Regions from separate parts of the Homo sapiens genome. Here region 2 is linked to region 1. The links are contacts of gene promoters, found by promoter capture Hi-C in blood cells and fetal thymus (Javierre and others, 2016). All regions are on one chromosome and are shown on one strand. The core of a region is centred on a gene start or on the middle of the fragment in contact, and the rest is flanking DNA. Distances in the headings are between cores, read along the strand shown. Region 1 holds the start of CDCA7 (cell division cycle associated 7). Region 2 overlaps RAPGEF4 (Rap guanine nucleotide exchange factor 4).

What was found. The method cuts DNA at HindIII sites, captures the fragments that hold promoters and counts their contacts. A CHiCAGO score of 5 or more calls a contact.
Region 2: a contact is called between a fragment that was not itself captured here and the fragment with the promoter of CDCA7 in region 1, in 1 of 17 cell types (fetal thymus). The highest score is 6.7, in fetal thymus.

The regions. Positions count from the first base shown.
Region 1 is chr2:173,353,514-173,356,213 of GRCh38, reverse strand. It overlaps CDCA7 (cell division cycle associated 7), which reads right to left and starts at 1,342. Exons shown (of 10, transcript NM_031942.5): 1 at 1,230-1,342. The coding sequence starts at 1,250. RefSeq lists a silencer at 1,131-1,400 and enhancers at 1,951-2,040, 1,343-2,298. The HindIII fragment of the contact is 4,998 bases long and covers 1-2,700 here.
Region 2 is chr2:172,969,970-172,972,933 of GRCh38, reverse strand. The region is part of intron 10 of RAPGEF4 (Rap guanine nucleotide exchange factor 4); the gene reads right to left. Among named protein-coding and RNA genes, the nearest start is that of MAP3K20, 100 kb to the left of the region's middle. The HindIII fragment of the contact is 818 bases long and covers 1,112-1,929 here.

The DNA of each region.
Region 1 (2,700 bases), core at 93-2,592:
AAAGCAGCAAGGCAAATAGTCAAGACGGAGATGAACTTCTTTGGCAGGTAAGTAATAACTAATACCATTTATAGTAGGCGTTTTTCGTGCCAGGCACTATGTTAAGTACACTTTCACGTCAGGTTTAATTCTTTGCAACAAAGGTGCTATCGTTATTCTCACTTAGCCAATGAGGAAACTGAGGCTCAGGAAAGCGAAATGGATTACTCAAGTCCCATGGTGGCTCAGATTTGAACTCAGGCATGTCAGGTTCCAAGACCAGCTACACATGGTTTTCTTCATCCGGAAAGCCAATGCCCAGCTCCACCGGGGCGGCGACTCAGCTCTGAAACCACGCCCCATCGCACCCACCCCCGCGAGGGTCCCTAACCCCTGATATTTATTTTAAACATGTCATTGTCTTCCGTTTCACCCAACCCCCACTCTTCTACCCTCTCCAGGAGCCCGACCCTACGTTCTGGCTTCCGTTAGAGCAAAAAGTAACGTTCCACTCAGAGCAACGTCCTGCAGCTAAGAGTAAGGCTGGGGGGTGGGGGGTGGGGGGTTGGGGGTTGGGGTGGAGGAAGTAGGAAACGAGCAAATGGTCGGCGAACGCTTTGACCCACCAAGCCCTTTAAATGCACTTAACCACCGCCCGGGACTACGGTCGCTTCACACTGCGTGCGCAGCCCAAGTTCTAGGAGACCGGTTCGCAAGACCTTAAACCTCAGACGCGCTGGCCCTCAGCGGTTAGAAGCGGACGCGTCTCTTGCCGGGCGGGGTGCGCGCCCAAGGGCCACCCACTGAGCGCGGGTATAGACGCGGCGAGCCACGCACTGGCTCCGAGTTGTGTGCGGGAAAGGGCTGGGCCGCTGCGGGACAACCTCCCAGGGGGCAGGCAGGCTGGCTCTGCCTGGCAGGCAAAATCGGGACCGGCCAGCGCTCCCGGCCGCTGTCCGGCCTTTGGCGGACGCACGTGCCTAGGGCTTTCCAGCGCTGCTAGCCATCCTGCAAACGACTCAAGTCTCCACGCCGCCCGCACTTCGGGTGCGCACGCCACGCAGGAACGTCCCCATGGCCCTCAGTTATCCCAGGTGCACAAAATCAGGGGCTTGCCCAAGCGGGCAACGCCTAGGCAGGCCACCAGTTAAGGCAGCGCTAGGCTGCGGAGTTGGAGAGGGTCGGCCCGCGCCCGCCTGCGTCCAGCACCCACCGCGCCCGCCCCTCGGGTTCGCCCGCCCAGCCCTCACCGGCACGCGGCGAGCGTCCATGCTGGTGGCGGGTGCCCAGATCGGCGCTTGGAGCGGGGAGAGCGGAGCAGCCGCGCGGTCAGCGGTCCCACAGCAGGAGGAGCAGCAGCAGCGCGGCTGGCAGGCTGGGCGCGCCGACCCGGGCCCGGAGGGGCGGGGCTCGGGCTGTCTTTCCCGCGTTGGGACACAGGTCCTGCAAGCTGTGGTAACGGCCAGACATGGCGCAAGACTAGGTGGCCCCCTGGAAAAAACACGACCCCCCTATATATTCTGACCTCAAAGGATAGCCTTGGGCACTCCTAAAATCCCCTTTGAGAAAGGGGGGCTTTAGGGGCTACGGGGACCACTCTCCTTGTGCAGCTGCGCGGTCCTGAGCGAGTGGCGCGAAAATGGTTCGTATTGCCCCGGGGTTAGCTGTCTGATTTGCAAGAATTTTCGTGGTGGCGGAGGAAAAGTGGAGTCTGGGGGGTAAAGGAGAGCAGCGTGAGGGTGGCGCGGGTCACGCACCATGGCGTTTAGCACTTTCATTGCTGCGTGCGGTTTACAAGATTTAAAAAATCATAGAATCCAGCACGAACTCCACCCTTCATAATCGAGTTCACCGCCCCTGGATGTAGCACCTCTTATCTGGGAACCACACCATTATCTGAAGCAATAAAATGAGTTAAATCCTGATCTTTCTTTCCAAAAAGCACAGGAAGCCGACTTGTTTACTTGTGGTTTTCAAAGTAGAAGAAAAGCCGCAGCAGCTTGATGAAGACGTCTATAGTATAGTTAACCTTTAACGATTATCTGTTGGGGATTGAAACTAAAGATTGAACAATTGTGGCTTGATGATCTTCTCTGTCTTCAGAATTGAGAACTACCCTGAGTCAGTGCGAACGAGAAAACTTTTCATTGCCCTTTTAACCAAACTTGGCATTACAACGAAAAAATGAAATAAAGCGAGGCTTTTTGTGTGCGTGAAGAGCAAAACTTGCTTCTACAAGAAAAAGTAAATTTAGTTTCTTTAGAAGACACTAATTATACTCTTAACATTTAAAACAAGCGCTTGAAATGAAAACATTCGCATTTCCCCCTCATTTCAAAACTTTTCTCTGGGGAATAATTAATTCCTTTGCAGTAAGAGAGTGCATGGACATACTGTGTTCCTCTCTTGGTGTACTGAATACAAAAACTGTGAGCAAGTAAATAATGCCCGAGGACAATGGATTGGAAGGAGTCTTCCAGCCTTTCTTAAATATACCTACCCAGTAATCACTCTGCCACTGTGCAAGGGACAAAGAGCTCAAGGTCTAGAAGGTGAGTGCCAGGAGGAGAGGCTATCGGTGGGTGGTGAAATTACGGAATTACAGGGCCCTCAGTAAGTATTTGTTGAATGAATAAACATTTGGGAATATAATTTTGTGCCACTAAAGCTAAATATATGAAAATTTGGAATTACTAGATCCATGAAGCAGGGGAAGATTAA
Region 2 (2,964 bases), core at 271-2,770, 380 kb after region 1:
AACTAAAGGGATAGGCACCAAAATGTTAACAGTAATTAACTGAGACATGTGATTGCAGGTATTTTTTCTTCTTTTTTAACTCTTGTCAGTGGTTTCCAAATTTTCTCCAATAAAGAGATCGACTTTAGCAATAAAAAGTCATTAAAACCTTGAGGCAATCTTATAATAAACTCTAAACTGTAGATGAGCAGCTAAGTTCATCCTCCCCTCTCCTGAATCTTAATCATAAAGGTAGCAATCCAATGGCTGGTTTCAGGCCATGTGGATATGAGGAATAAGAATAAATTGCTTTCATGGGGAGAGGCAGAGAAATGACCTACTTAATGCAATCATTTATTCAGGTAAATTCTACAAGCTTTCACTTGTGACGCCAAAATCTTTCCAGTAAAGACCAAGGTGAAGGTCACCATGCAGTGAAGGAAGGATTCGCCGTGACTGTCTTACTTCAGAAGCCTAGGTTCTTTCGGTCGTGCTTTTCTTCTCATCTGATTAACATTTGAGATGAACTTCGTAACTGTGGACATTCTCTTGACACATCCCAGCAGAAATCAAAACCCTAACCACCACCAATTTTAGGCTTGCTAATCTGGAATCCCCCGAAGAAACAAATCCCTCTATAATTACCAGGATTTTAAATTCCACACCCTGGAAAAGAGTTTAGACAAATAAAGATCCTATTAAAACAGGCACTGCTAATTAAGACACAATACACAGGCTCTCACGCGCCCTCTAGAGCAAGTGTGTGGAATCGAACAGCAGCAGGGTAGTCTCCACCCAGCCTCTGCAGGACAGCCTTGCATTAGGGCAGCCAATTAAGGGATAAACAATACCCTCCCCACCCCCGCCCACAGTATTTTGCCTTTATGTCATTTAATCCATCTTAAATTGTTGCCTTTCAACTTTACGCCCTATAGCATATGTTTGATATGAAGCCAATATATCTCACGTTTCCATATTTCTTAATGCCTTAGCAGAGTATGGGCAATAAGAAAACAAACAAAAAAACCATTTCCAGGACCTTTGAACATGCTCTCAGTTTTCAGGAGCAAGGTGTGTTCAGATGGTCTCTTCAAGACAACAATGATACTGGCAATTCTTGACCAACGAAGCTTGTTTTCTTTCCGTTTAAGTAAAATTAAATAGTAACTCCAAAGATTATTAGCAGATCAAAAAAAAAATGGGGTATGTGTGTACGTGCATGTAGAGTTGGACTGTCTGTCTCCTAAAATTAGATTCCTTACTTTTCACTTTCCCATCTCTCAGAGCTCTTATTCCAGCAGAAAGAGTCAAAAGAAGAAACTGCCAGCCCAATTCCAATGTTTAAAAAGTTTCAAAAAACCTAGGGAGATGGGAAAAATCCCAAGGGCAACTGAAATATTAATTTATCACATAAAATAAACGAACTCAAGTTTGTGTGTTTCTGACCCAGTTGGAAGATTCCCCAACTTCTAACAATTCTCTTATATATACATATATTTCTCTCTGCTCGGGCCCAAATGACTTTTCTCTTTCTCAACTTACTTAGGCTTCTACTGTTAGGCATTTTCAGAACTGCAGACCTAAATTTTGATTTGGGAAACAGTGTCTACTTAACTGTCCTCCCAACTTTAGGCTGGTCTCTGATAGACCATCCTGAACATTGGAACCTATGTCTCACTTTACTTGGAAGGAGTGGTTGGAAGGCTTGTACAGCAGAGCGTCCTGTCTCCTTGAAGCCTCTTTTTTATCCACAGTTGGCCTCAAGTTTACAATACTCTGTTTACCTAGTCACTCCAGATCCTTTTACTCATATTTCTCTAACCAAAGTACCTGCTCAAAGAAAGCCAAAATGCACATTTCTACTGGTAAGAGTACCCATTATATCTACTTGCTATAGGGCAACCTCTTGTTTTTAGATTTATAAACAAAGCAAAATCAAAACAATAAGCTTGGAGAGCTCATTCAGTGTTTGATGGCCCTGTCTCAGAGCTACAACAACAGCACCGTCAAACTGTCATCGTTCTGTAGCACTTGCCCCCAAATGCCATCCAGGTCTGCACCTGCGAAACCAGGACGGGCATTGTGAGTCACTCTGTCTGCCACCACATAAAAAGCTAATTTCACATGCAGAATGTATGTGTTTTTTTTCAATACCAATAGCAACAAGAGTGTGCCAAAAAATTTCCCCTGAAGCTCTATTCTGTTTTTTAAACTACAGAACATTCTTTCATAGTTTGACAGTTAAAATGCTGCAGTTAATGTAATAAACAGAGAATTTTTCTAAGTAGCCTGTCAAAACAAGTGACACTTTTTTTTTTTGCTAGCAAGTCTCAGATTCAGAACAATAGGAAGTACCTTTCAAAGCAACATCTTCATTATACAATCAAATTCTCAAAGTAATCTTCTCATCAAAGAATATTGTGTTATTTCTTTCCCAGTAATTATCAGAGTTCTGCAACCTCTCTGGCAGTGGTGACTATTATAAAATGCAGCCGTGCTGAGTTTAAAAGTTGGGGGTCCTGCCCTGGTCAGTATGAAGCCAATGCATCTCATGCCTCCACATTTCTTAATGACTTAGCACTTTCGGCAGTAGAAAGTCAACATTTCCAGGACCTCTGAACATGCCCTCAGTTTCCAGGAGTGAAGTGCTTGGTTGGTCCCTTCAAGGACAGTAGTGATACTGGCAATTCTTGATCAACTAAGCTTGTTTTCTTTCCACTTAAATAAAGTAGTAGCTCCAAAGATTATTAGCAGATCAAAAAAAAAAAAAAAGGGTGTGTGTGTGTATGTACATGTAGAGTTGGAATATCTGTCTCCCAAAATTAGATTCCTTATTTTTCACTTTCCCATCTCTCGGGAGCTGTTATTTCAGCAGAAAGAAAACTGAAGAGTTCCAGAAGTGCCAGCCCAATTCCAACGTTTGCAAAGTTTCGAAAAACCTAAGAAGATGGGAAAATCCCAAGGCCACCTGAAATCATGTATCTT